Linked DNA regions of Homo sapiens: regions 1 and 3 are each linked to region 2. The links are contacts of gene promoters, found by promoter capture Hi-C in human tissues and cell types (Jung and others, 2019). All regions are on one chromosome and are shown on one strand. Each heading gives the region's core, a stretch centred on a gene start or on the middle of the fragment in contact. The rest is flanking DNA. Distances are from core to core; before and after follow the strand shown.

Region 1 (4,104 bases), core at 234-2,733, 1.2 Mb before region 2:
ACAAGACTGCGTCATTGCACTCCAGCCTGGGCAATAAGAGTGAAACTCCATCTCAAAAAAAAAGAAAAAAAAAAAAGAAGAGATTTCTCACCTATATACCCTGAGTGTCTCTGCAGCCAGCAAAGCAGATGAAGGCCTGCTGGGTTGGAGCCCTAGGCCCTCCAATGCTGAAATGCCCTGTGAAGTCTCCATCCATCCAGGCACTCTAGTAACCTGCTTCTTCTGCCTGGAATTTATTCTAAAAATACCCACATGGCTCATTTCTCACTTCCTTCAAGTGCATTTCACCGGCTTTCTGATTAAGAAGTCCCACCTCTCCCCTTTGTCTCTTATCAAAGTAGCATTTCTTTCATTGTTTTTTGAGATTGATGTTAGACTTCTAGAAGGAATATATCTCAGATATCAAGTAAGAATTATGAAATGGATAAAAGCGTTGCTCAGTGAATTGGACACAGTTATTGACTGGACACAGTAATTGGACACAATAATTGACTATGCAGGCAAAAGATGTTTTCTGTTGGAATCAGACAGAATTCTACCTTTGTACTACTGTTTCAAGGTGATCTAACATTTCTCTTCTATCTTCTAGAAGCACTATCATGCCACTATCTGAAGTAGTTTTTCACCTGTCCCTGACCAAAAGTGCACAGACTGACTTCAATGCTTCGGAGTGCATACATTTGAAATGTAATATGATAGAGGCTGGGTACGGTGGCTTACGCCTGTAATCCCAGCACTTTGAGAGGCCGAGGCGGGCAGATCACCTGGGGCCAGGAATTTGGGACCACCATAGTGAAACCCTGTCTCTACTGAAAATACAAAAAATTAGCCTGGCGTGGTGGCGCGCGCCTATAGTCCCAGCTACTTGGAAGGTTGAGGCACGAGAATCGATTAACCCGGGAGGCGGAGGTTGCAGTGATCCCAGATGGCGCCGCTGCACTCCAGCCTGGGGGACAGAGGGAAACTTTGTCTTAAAAAAAAAAAAAAAGGAATAAACTTATATGGTAATGTTTATTAGCTTCCCTACTAGTGGATATATTTCGTGTCTGAATGGCTCTATGGAATGATGTACATATTTGGATTGGCAGCCTTAGGGAGCGTCTGATAATAATTTTAGCCTCTGGGAGCCTGCTGAACTTTATGAAGTTTGAAATAATATTCCCCAAACACTTGGGTGATCAGTTGCAGATGGCACCTCTAATATGCTGTCTGATTACGACCCATTTAAGAAAGGGCGAAGTCCCTCCACTGCCCTAGGACTTGGATAAGCCATTTCTCATCGCCCAGCGCCCTGGAGCTTCGCTTTTACTCCAAGAGGTTGGTGCAAAGGGTCCCCGGCACCCACCTCGGGATCTATGAAAACTACATTACCTAGAATGCTCTGCGTTGAACGCCACGCTACTAAGCCAGTAAGAGCTCAGAAAACCGACTTTCCTTGAGAGTCACAAAAAGAAAGGACGGGACTTTTGGGGGGGCCTCTTCGTGGCGGCCATTTTAGCTTCTCTGAGGTGTGTTCACCGGATCAGAGATAGCAGAGCGCCGAGTTGGGGCCACGAAGGCGTGAGGGGAGTCGTCGTCCCTCCTGCACGAAAGCGTCTAAGCCTTGGCGACGCCGCCCTGGGGGACCCACGTCAGGCCTGGGATAGGGACCGCTGTCCCCGGGTCCCTACCAATGTCGCCCGTCGCTCCCGGCCCAGCTCTACCCGCAGAGTCTGATGGCAGCGGCCACTCTGAGGACGCCAACTCAGGTGAGTGCGGCGTCTTCCCGTCCTCACACACCTTCCCCCACCCACGTTCTAAAGCCATCAGTGAGGGGCGCCTGCTCGAGTCCCCGCTGCCCAGGGTCGGGGACACTGAGGCGTTCGTGGGTGGGGCCCTTTTTTTGACACTGCGTGTGACGAGGTGTGGGAGAGCGTGACAGGCGGAGGAACCGGCGCGTGCAAAGGTTGAGGCGCGACTGAGCCAGGAGAATTCGGAAAGCTGTTTTCTGCAGGGAACGAAGAATATGAGGCGGAGTTACTCCTAGGGTTGTACTGTCATTGTGAGGATGCTAGAAGCCACGGAGAGTTCTGAACAAAGGAGGGACGCCATTTATGTTAGTTTTTTTTTCTTTGAGACGGAGTTTCGCTCTTATCGCCCAGGCTGGAGTGCAATGACGCGATCTCGGGTCACTGCAACCTCCGACTCCCGGGTTCAAGCGATTCTCCTGCCTCAGCCTCCCCAGCAGCTGGGATTACAAGCCTGCAGCTGGGATTACAACGTCCGGCTAATTTTTTGTATTTTTAGTAGAGACGGGATTTCACCATTTTGGCCAGACTGGTCTGGAACTCCTGACAAGTGATCCTCCTGCCTCGGCCTCCCAAAGTGCTGGGATTACAGGCGTGAGCCACCGTGCCCGCCCTATGTTAGGGTTTAAAAACTTTTCCAAAGACTGTTCACAGGAAGAGCAGCGATGGGGCGATGAGGACATTGAGATAGTGGGAGGCTACATCTTTTTTTCATTGCCCTACAGTTGGCAAGAGGTGACAGCACTGAGACCAGAAAGTAAAACAGCCAGCCTGAGTTCAGGGCCAGGCAGGGCTACAGGGAGGCTTGAGCTCATCTAGCCTCACCAGGGATGCATTCCTCTTTCCCTGGTTCTCCCAGTTGTAGAAGGGCGTATGGAACTCACATAGGGAAGTGGAGAGTGTTCGGTCCCTCAGTAGCCTCTACCCCCATGTTCTTGGGATTGTGGTTTCCTAGTATTCTTAAGTGCTGTTACCCCAATCCTGGGTCTGGTGCCCTGGAGAAATTCCAAGCCCAGGGCTCTTAAGTCCATGCCAGAGGTTACAGGGGTTATACTGAGGTGTTCCCATTTTTGTCAGCCAGTGGAAACTTGTGAAAGGTTATCTCTGGCACTGGTATCAGGAGGCGCAAGTGCTTAGTAAAACTAAGCTGAGATTTTTGAGGAAACCATAGATCTGTTTCCTTTTAGCTGGGAACAAAGAGCAGGGGGAAGGAGTCAGGACTGCAGTGGCTGCCTGAGAAGTTGGGTACCTATTCTGGAGGTAATGAGAGATTTGGGTTACAAGAGGGAGGTGATCTTACCAAAGTCCTAACAGGGTCCATCCCGTTAGCGTGGAGAGCAGACTGTGGGGTTGAGGGAAGAGGAAAGAAGATCAGAGTGGAAGCTACAGCCAGTCCAGGGTAATGGACCAGAGTCATTGATTAGGAGATGTGTTGCATTCTGGATGCAAATTTTTAAAGGGAGCAACTAAATTTTCTGATGTAGACAGCGAGGGAGTGAAACAGGATTCAGCGATGACCCCATGGTTCTTCAACTGAGATGGAGAAGTTGGTATTAACAGTAATATTCACTGGAGACAACAGGAGCTTTATTTGGTCATGTAAGAGTTTGAGATGTTTCAGAGACATTAAGTAGGCATTAAGTAGGTGGCTGAACACCCAGGTCTGGAAATCTGGGGAGTGCTTCAGAATGGAGACATCCAAAATGTGGTGGTCATTGTGTGGACTAAGGTGAGTGAGCTGTGGATTACATTTAGAAGGGTTGTTCTATTTTTTTTTTTTTTTTTTGAGATGGAGTGTCTCTCTTGTTGCCCAGGCCAGAGTGCAATGGCGCGAGCTTGGCTCACCACAACCTCCGCCTCCCGGCTTCAAGCAATTCTCCTGCCTCAGCCTCCCGAGTAGCTGGGATTACAGGCATGCGCCACCACGCCCGGCTAATTTTGTATTTATTTAGTAGAGACAGGGTTTCTCCATGTTGGTCAGGCTAGTCTTGAACTCCCAACCTCAGGTGATCCACCCGCCTCAGCCACCCAGAGTTCTGGGATTACAGGCGTAAGCCACCGCATCCGGCCTACAAGGGTTAATCTTTAGGCATGGTGGTACAGGTTATTTGGCCAGGAAGGGCAGAATGGGGGCTAAGGACCAAGCCTTTTGGTTGGATAAGTGGGTGATATTCTTGGGCTTTCTAAACAGAGGTAAGGGAGGTTAGTGGCTATGGAGGTAGGGTGTTTGGAGAGGATAGTTGGGCAGGTGGCATACACTTTCAAGGGAAGAGTGGATATAAGGTGGATGCAGAGGCATAGGTGTATTTGAGGCAAA
Region 2 (4,191 bases), core at 259-2,758:
AAGGTTATATAGGAAGGGGCTCATCCTACAGGAACCTCCAGTGTTCAGCTATCTGGAAGTTTGATGAACCCAGTCCTTTTGGGTTTTTATGGAAGCTTCATAATGTAGGCATGACTGGTTAAATCACTGACCACTGATGATCAGTTTAACCTGTGGCTCCCTTTCCTTTCCCTGGAGATTGAGGGATGGGGCAGGTAATCCCAACCCTCTAATCCTGCCTAGATTGTTCTTGTGACCATCCCTTACCGTGATCAACCTACAGGCTGCCAGCCCACCAATCATTAGCATGCAAAAAGACACTTAATACTTTGGAGATTCCAAGGATCTTAGAAGTCGTAAGCCAGGAAACATAACTTTGTCCTATACTTTGATCGCCTCCCTCTCTCTCACAAACTCATAACAACATAACCTAGTCTCACTCTTTGGACTCTCACAGTTTAGTCTCTTTCTCTCTCTCATACACACACACCAGCCTCTCAAGGAGCCTCACATAATGACTGGTCTTTCACACACAGCCACGTGCTCATCTCTCTCACACTCACTGGTCTCACGCTATGTTGTCTCTCACACACGAACACACCCTGGTCTCACACTCTGGTCTCTCTCAGTCTGTCAGACACACATAACACGGCCTCACACACTGACGGGTCTTTCACCCAAAACACCCATTTCTCACACTCACTGGTCTCCCTTTCACACATTAACATACCACAGTCTCACACTCTGTTCTTGCACAGTCTAGTCTCGCATACATGGTGATTCTTCTCTCTCTCGAACACACACCGGCCTCTCATTGAGCCTCACCCACCGACCGACCGGCCTTTCACACACAGGCACACGCCCATCTCTCACACTCACTGGTCTCTCACACTCCATCCAGCCCGTCTCACTCTCTCACACGAATACATCCTGGTCTCACGCTCTGGACACCTGGTCTGTTACACACTTACACACCCACACACCTCGCAACCTCTCACTGAGCTTCACACGCTCTCTTTCAAATGCAGGCACATCCCTATCTCTCTCACACTCACTGGTCTCTCACACTGGCCCGTCTCGCTCTGTCACACACGAACATACCCTGGTCTCACACTGGACTCTCGGTCTGTCACACACACACACACACACACACAGAAACCACACCCTCTCACGGAGCCTCACACTCTGACAGATCTTTTACACACAGGCACACCCCCATCTCTCCCACAGCTCACTCCAGTGGTCCCGCCGCCCCAAGCCGCCCCGAACGCCCAGCAGCCCCGAGCCGCGGCCTCCGCCCCGCAGACTCGAGTACGCGCGCCCCGCTGGCCTCTGGGAAATGTAGTCGTCCTGGGGACAGAGGACGCGGCTGGGCCTTCGCGACCCGCGTCGGAGCCGCCCGCCTCGCCTGCCCTTCCTGGCCCAGCCCTCGAGCTCGGACTCCCAAACCACCCAAAACAAACCCCCGGCCTCGTCTGGCACCCAGACGCTCTCATCCGAAGGACTCCGTGAGTCGACGCTGGAACCCCCCATCGCGCAGGCGCCAGCCTCTCTCCAGGGGTCGGACGAGAGGGGCGGAGACAAGGCGTGGCCTAGTGTTGAGGGGATTGTCCTCGGGCTGCTGAAGGAGTGAGAGGGACCTTAGAGCAGAGCGGGCGGTGCCTGCGCAGTGCGTGATTACGCGAGCCGGGCGTGGCCCAGGGTTCCGGCGGGTAAGAGCAGGAGTGTGCGCAGGCGCAAAGATTGCGCTCTCCCCCTCTCCTCGCCTAGAGACCAGAAGCGTCCCTAGTTACTAGTTCCTGGGGCCTGGGAGGGAAACGCGCGACGGCTGAGCCTTCGGTGTGAGTACGCGTGGGGCTTTGTGACGCTGTCTGTGCCTCTGTGATCGCGATGTCATTCGGAGCGCGGCCTTCTGTGCCAGTCCGTGGGAGTGTCATTATCTTTCTGTGTTAAGCTTATTTTGGAATAAGACAGCGACGAGGAACCCCGACCGTGTTGTGACTCTGGCGAATTAATACCTCTTTCAGCTGCAAATGGGAATGTCACTGATCAGAGGCAGTGAATAACACGACGTTTTTGGAACCAATCTGCTAGGCTTGAACCGCGTTCAGCCCCTTAACAAAATGGAAATGGTCCCCGTTTTAGGGGACTAGCCCTGACTAGGAGAACTGTAGAATTAGTATTGGAAGGTGAGACAAATAAGGAAAAGCAATTCAGGGGGATACAGCAGAGAAAAAAAAATCCCTGTCCTCTTATTATGTAATTTACTTTGAAGCGGAGAGAGACAAGCCACAAATTCATGAGTTAGATAAACAGTCTGATGAACAGTAAAAAGGGCTATGGAGAAATATAACTCAGAGAAGGTTGTATCGTATACATTTTTTCTATTGTCTCTTATAATGTCTTAACATGTCAAAAAAACCTGTCTGCAGCAGACACCAGCCAGGTGACCGCTACTCCAATTCAATTCTGACGCTACCTGGAAAACATCAGATCCTACAGGTTAGACAGCTCAGTCCCAAAAGACTGTCCCCCACTTCCCATGCCAATTCCAAACTCCAGATTGTTGTACCTGTGTTTCAGAGAGATGTGCTATAAATTGGGGCTCCCACAGCCGGCTCCTTGGGTTCCATTAGTTTGCTAGAGCAGCTCACAGAACTCAAGGAAACACTTATGTTTACTGGTTTATTATAAAAGATATTTTAAAGGATACAAATAGCCAGATGAAGAGACATGTAGGGCAAGGTCCGAGAGAATCCCTAGTGCAGGAACTTCTGTGCCCGTGGAGTTGGGGTGCACCACCCTCCCAGCACGAGGATGTGTTTTTGTCTACCTTCTTGGAAGCCGCTTGAACTCAGGCCTTTTCGGTTTTCAAGGTTTCATTATGTAGATGTGATTGATTAAATCATTGGCCACTGGCGATCAACTTAATTTTCAGGCTCTCTCTTTTCCCAGAAGTAGAGGGTGGAGCTGTGAGTTCCAGTCCTCTGAGCACATGGCTGGTTCCTCTGGCAACTAGCCACCACTCCCCCCAAATATTGGGATTATCTTGAGAGTTTCCAAAAATCACCTCATTAACATAAACTCATGTGTGGTTGAAATACTGTCTTTCACCTTTATGGCTCTGGAGCTGTTCTGGAGCTTTTTCAGGAACCAGGAACAAAAGGCCAGATATTTTAACAAAAGATACTTTATTGCTGCAGTCATTTAGGAAATTAAAAGAGCTGTAGGAACTGAGAGCCATGAACTGTACCTTTCTTTCTAACTCCACATTCAGTGATGTCATATTGGTAGATTGAAATCCACCACAAGGGGACTATTTACAGTATGGAAATACAGTCTACATCGCTAAAGGATGGAGATACATTCTGAGAAATGGGTTCTTAGGCAATTTCCTAAGAACCTTGTTGTGCAAACATCATAGAGTGTACTTACACAAACCTAGATTGTGTAGCCTACTACACACCCACACTCACTCAGACTGGGACAACTTAGACATACCAGTTAACTTACTGTGCACATCTTTGGGATGTGGGAGGAATCTGGAGTACCCAGAGAAAACCCATGGAGACATGGTGAGACTAGTCAGATTGCATTAGGACCCACCCTAACGACCTCATTTCAACTTAATTAACTCTGTAAAAATCCTATATCCAAATACAGTCACATTCTGAGGTACTGGGAGTTAGGACTTCAACATGCAAAATTTGGGGCAGACAAAATTCAACCAATAACAAGAGATTATTTTGATTCTTCTGTCCTCATTCATCCCACCAAGGAAGTAAGGGGTATTTCCATTATCATACTATATATTAAATTATCATTACATTACATATATAATGTTTTCTTTATCTAATTTTTACTTTATATATACCACATTTTTGTTCATGGGCCATCAAAGGTATTATCTCACATAATTCTTGTAAAAATAAAATTGAATAACTAACTTTACAGTTGAAGATTTAAACAATAAGGGACTTTTTCCAAAGCCACACATCTAATAAGTTTCAAAGGTATTACTCTAATTCAAGTTTCTTCTTTCCAAATTCAGAACTCTTTCCATCCTGTAACAGTGCACTATTTTTAAGCTTAACTCCTTTCTGAAGAATATCAAATTTAACAACAGTGTTGGTGACCAGGTGAATTTGGATTACAAATTAATTTCTGGGACAGAATATGATATTCTCAACTTTTGGAACTTCAGGTGAGAGT
Region 3 (4,224 bases), core at 469-2,968, 1.1 Mb before region 2:
CCTCTTCAAAGGTTTAGCCTGTTAACTTCCTTGTTCTTTGTTCTCAAACCTTTCTTGTTCTCCATGCCTCCTTGCCCCTAGTTACTATAAACAACCTTCCTGTAAGCACTAACCAATAATTCACATCTGTTCCCTTACTCACTTTGCACCCATTGCCCCCGCCAAAACCACACGTCCTACACAACTCACATGTCCCACCACTGTAACTCACCTTCCCCTTCCCTCTTCCTTATTTGGAAAATACTCACAAATACCCAATTGGCTCAGCTTAGATTAAGCGGTCCGACCCCAGCCCATGGGGGAGTGACACAGAGGAAGGTAGGGACTATGGGTTAGAGATAAAAACCCCTTCCCTCCTTTGTTCAGTGTGCTCTTGGGATCGTGATTAACACAGGCAGCACACTTGCACAGAAGTAAATTGCCTTGCTGAGAAAACTTTTGCCTGAGTGCTGGTTTCACTTTGCAGCACCAAGCATTGACTTCCAACAACACCATCTAGAATGCTTTCACATGCCAGGACCCCTCCTTTCTGGAAGGAATCTTAAGTGTCCACCCCTTCATCCCTGGCCTTCCACCCTAAACCCACCTCTCACTTCAGAGACCACACAAAATAACTTCCTTGAAATTCCACCCTCTAAATCTGATCTACTACAGGCTTTGACCTTATGCCTCACCCATTGAAGTCTCTAGCACAACTCCCTCTCTAGAACCCCAGACCTGCATGTTCAGCTACCCGTGATGAACCTCCAGTGCAGAACACCTTAGATTCACCAAGTCCAAAACCCAATTCCTGATGCCCCTGAAACGTGCTCCCTGCTGTGACTTACCAATTTCCATTCTTTCACACGTTCAGGAAGGAAAACAGGCCAAAAAAACCCTGGATAGCCCTTTCCTCCCTACATTCACTCACGACCACATCTGATGCGGCAGGAAACCCCATTGGTTCCATCTTTAAAAATCTACCCAGAATCTCATGACTTCCCCACCCAACCCCTCCTGCCACTGCTCTGGCCCAGCCACCACCGCAACACTTCTGGAGTTTGTTGCAGGGACCTCCTCAAACGTCTCCTTGCCTCCATCCTCATCGTTTCTACCTCACTGTAGTCGGTTTCCTCCTCAGCAAACATTGGAATACTTTAAAAATCCTTTTTCGGATCCCTTCCCTCCACCATTCAAAACCCGCCATGGCTCCTATCGTCCTCGCAATGAAGGAGCAACTTCTCCCCTCGACATTGCAGGCCTGACTACGGTTCACACACGCTCCCGACTGCTACGGGCTCAGTCCAGCTCCAAACCTATGCTCAGGCTGCCCCTCTGCCAGTCACACTCGCCCCCACCCACCAGCGCCCCGCTGCCTTGGACACTGGGGCCTGCGCTGCAGGGACTCAGACAGGCGCTCCTCATTTGGAACTTCAGGATTTGGGGCGGGCGAAAGTCTGGGAAAGGCAGCACCCACCTGCGCCGGGCCCATCACCGCGGCCGCCGCCATCACAGTTCGTAGACCACCCGGAGCCGCGAGGGGGTCCCAGGTCGCGGGACCCTGGCACCGCGGTCGTCCGTCCCCGGGGGCGCAGGCGGGGTCTTCGCTGGCGAGCCACTCCGCAGAGCGAACAGCGACTTCTCCCGCACCCTCCCGCTTCCGTCACCTCGGAACCGCCCAGCAACCCCGAGCTTCTGCTCCGATGGTTCCACCTAAGAGCCGACAAGATGTCCACCGCGAGGAAGATACCGGAAGTCCCGCCCAGAGAGCTTCCGTCCGCAGGGAGACGCCCCTAAGAGTGCCGCCGCCGGGCGGCGCACAGGTTTCTGGGCAATGCAGTTCTCATGTGCACTTGGCCGTGGTGACGGCTAACTCCCCTGCACGCTGGGCAAAGGCCAAATGGTACTGCGAGGGGCGCTGAGAAATTATGCCCTGAGACTCTGAGGTCAGGGCGTGGCTTCGCTCCTTTTAAAGGACCCTCAACCAGGTCTTGTGTAGTGAGGTCTGCAGGGATCCCCGAAATATTGGGATATATTCTTACAGATGTTCCCTGAAGCCACACCACCAAATGGACACACAACATCCAATGTCACTCTGAGTCCACTCATAGTTCAGTCAAATTTCCTTCATTTAAAAAATATGTGTACTGTAGAGGGAAGCTTTGAGTCAGTTTTGTGAGCCTCAGTTGGGTCAGAGTTAACAGAGAATTGTCCCCAGGCAGGGCCATGGAGTGGAAGAATGGTCTCCAGACAGTGGCTATGGAGGGATGCTGGAGCTCCCTGAGGCAAGTGGACTAATATAGAGCTCTTCCTCTGGTTTCCTCAGAAAAAAAATACCTGAGAGAACCATGAGGAGGAAGACAGGCGAGAGAAGGTGGTCAAGGAAGGCACCTTTCCTGCCTGTATGGTCACTAATGTCCAACCAAAGGAGAAATATTCTTTTATCCAAATGAGAGTTCCTAGCCCAAAAGTTGAGATATATCTATTTCCTTTTGGTGATGTTTCTTATCTGAAAAGAAGAACCATTATAAATGCTTTTATATGCCAAGACAGGGGCTGAAAATGTGGTGTCTGAACCCAGAAATAAAGATTTGGAAAATTGGGATCAGATTTCTTGGCTGGGAGGTGATTCTCATTTCACCTGCAATTACACCGACAGTGTCTGAATTGAGAATTGAGATTTATTTATGGTTTTAAAAAAGAAAAGGGCGAGTGTATGGGGAAAGAAAGACAAAAACATTTGTGAATTGTTTAAATTACTCAAAAGTTGTTTTGTGTTTTTTTTTTTTGAGACGGAGTCTTGCTCAGTCGCCCAGGCTGGAGTGCAGTGGTGCGACCATAGCTCACTGCAGGCTCCGCCTCCCAGGTTCACACTATTCTCCTGCCTCAGCCTCCGGAGTAGCTGGGATTACAGGCGCCTGCCACCATGCCCGGCTAACTTTTTGTATTTTTAGTAGAGATGGGGTTTCACCGTGTTAGCCAGGATGGTCTCGATCTCCTGACCTCGTGATCTGCCCGCCTCAGCCTCCCAAAGTGCTGGGATTACAGGAGAGCCCCCGCGCCCGGCCAAATTACTCAAAGTTAATAATTCTGTAGTTATTCACAGATACATGACGAAATGGACCTGGAGAAACATATCTGTGATAAGTGAAAACGGTTAAGATGACAGCAAAATTTGAGCAGGAGACATTGAATTCTGAGAAGTGAGCAAATGAAGCTGAGCACACAGCTGTGTTAGAACTATGACTACAAGCAGCGTTTAGTCTCCAAAATGTAATTTTATTTATTTATTTAATTTTGGAGACAGGATCTCACTGTGTTGCACAGGCTGGAGTGTAGTGGCACGATCATAGCTTGCTGCAGCCTCAAACTCTTGGGCTCAAGGGATCCTCCCACCTCAGCCTCCCAAAAAGTTGGGATTACAGATGTGAGCCACCATGCCAGGCCTCTTTTCATTCTTGAAAACACTCAATAATACCTGGAAGGAGAAGTAAAGAAAACATTTAGAAAGTGCTATCAGAATATTAAGGTGAACAGGGATGCTGTAGTATTATGCTTATTCATAGTTCTAAGAAATATTCAAGGAACACCTACTGTATTTCAGACACTATCTTAACTGCATGGGACATTTACAAAACAAGAGACAGACCCCAATAGCTTACGCTGTACTCAAGAAAGAGGAGGAAATATGAAAAAAATGCTAAATTATATGGAATGTTAGAATGTGGCAGGCATAATGGAGAAAAGAGAAGGTGAAGGCATTGAGAAGTGCTGGAAAGATATGTAATATTACATAGCCAAGAGAGGCCAATTTGTGGATGGGTCTTTATTGGAAAAGGACATGGAGAGCTCAATGCCAGTGAAATAAAAGTTTAATGTTACTCAGAATTTCCCTAGAAATGGGAAGTACAGTATGCCATGCAGGGCCACAGGAGGAACAGGTTTCAGTCTAAAGGAAGAAGCAAGAGCTAGGGGAAAGCCTAGGCCAGATCAGAGCAAACAGCTGAGTACTGGCTAGTCTGAATAATTCTGGTTGGCTTCGATTTACAGGGGTGGTCTCTAGTTGCCTCATACCCTCACCCTGGTGTTAGAGTAGGTAGATAAGAGTAGGGCAGGAGAGAGGGACCCCAGGAATGTCAGGCAATTTTGGAGTCAAGGACAGGCAATCATAAATCTTTTCCTCTGAGATAATAAACAAAACAAGAGAGGGACCCCCGAGATGTCCAGCTCTCATTGGGTGAAGGA

What was found. Contacts are between HindIII fragments. The study calls those that stand out against the background at their distance.
Region 1: a contact is called between the fragment with the promoter of ZNF154 here and the fragment with the promoter of ZNF471 in region 2, in 1 of the 25 tissues and cell types used here (stomach).
Region 3: a contact is called between the fragment with the promoter of ZNF134 here and the fragment with the promoter of ZNF471 in region 2, in 1 of the 25 tissues and cell types used here (pancreas).

Annotation. Positions count from the first base shown.
Region 1 is chr19:57,706,583-57,710,686 of GRCh38, reverse strand. It overlaps ZNF154 (zinc finger protein 154), which reads left to right and starts at 1,483. Exons shown (of 3, transcript NM_001085384.3): 1 at 1,483-1,748. The coding sequence starts at 1,716. RefSeq lists enhancers at 1,303-1,362, 1,383-1,512, 1,256-1,895. The HindIII fragment of the contact is 14,166 bases long and covers 1-4,104 here.
Region 2 is chr19:56,505,172-56,509,362 of GRCh38, reverse strand. ZNF471 (zinc finger protein 471) reads right to left here and starts at 1,508. Exons shown (of 5, transcript NM_020813.4): 1 at 1,443-1,508. The HindIII fragment of the contact is 4,462 bases long and covers 1-3,000 here.
Region 3 is chr19:57,611,736-57,615,959 of GRCh38, reverse strand. ZNF134 (zinc finger protein 134) reads right to left here and starts at 1,718. Exons shown (of 3, transcript NM_003435.5): 1 at 1,457-1,718. It also overlaps a transcript of ZNF530 not described here. RefSeq lists a silencer at 1,464-1,513 and an enhancer at 1,644-1,823. The HindIII fragment of the contact is 8,655 bases long and covers 1-4,224 here.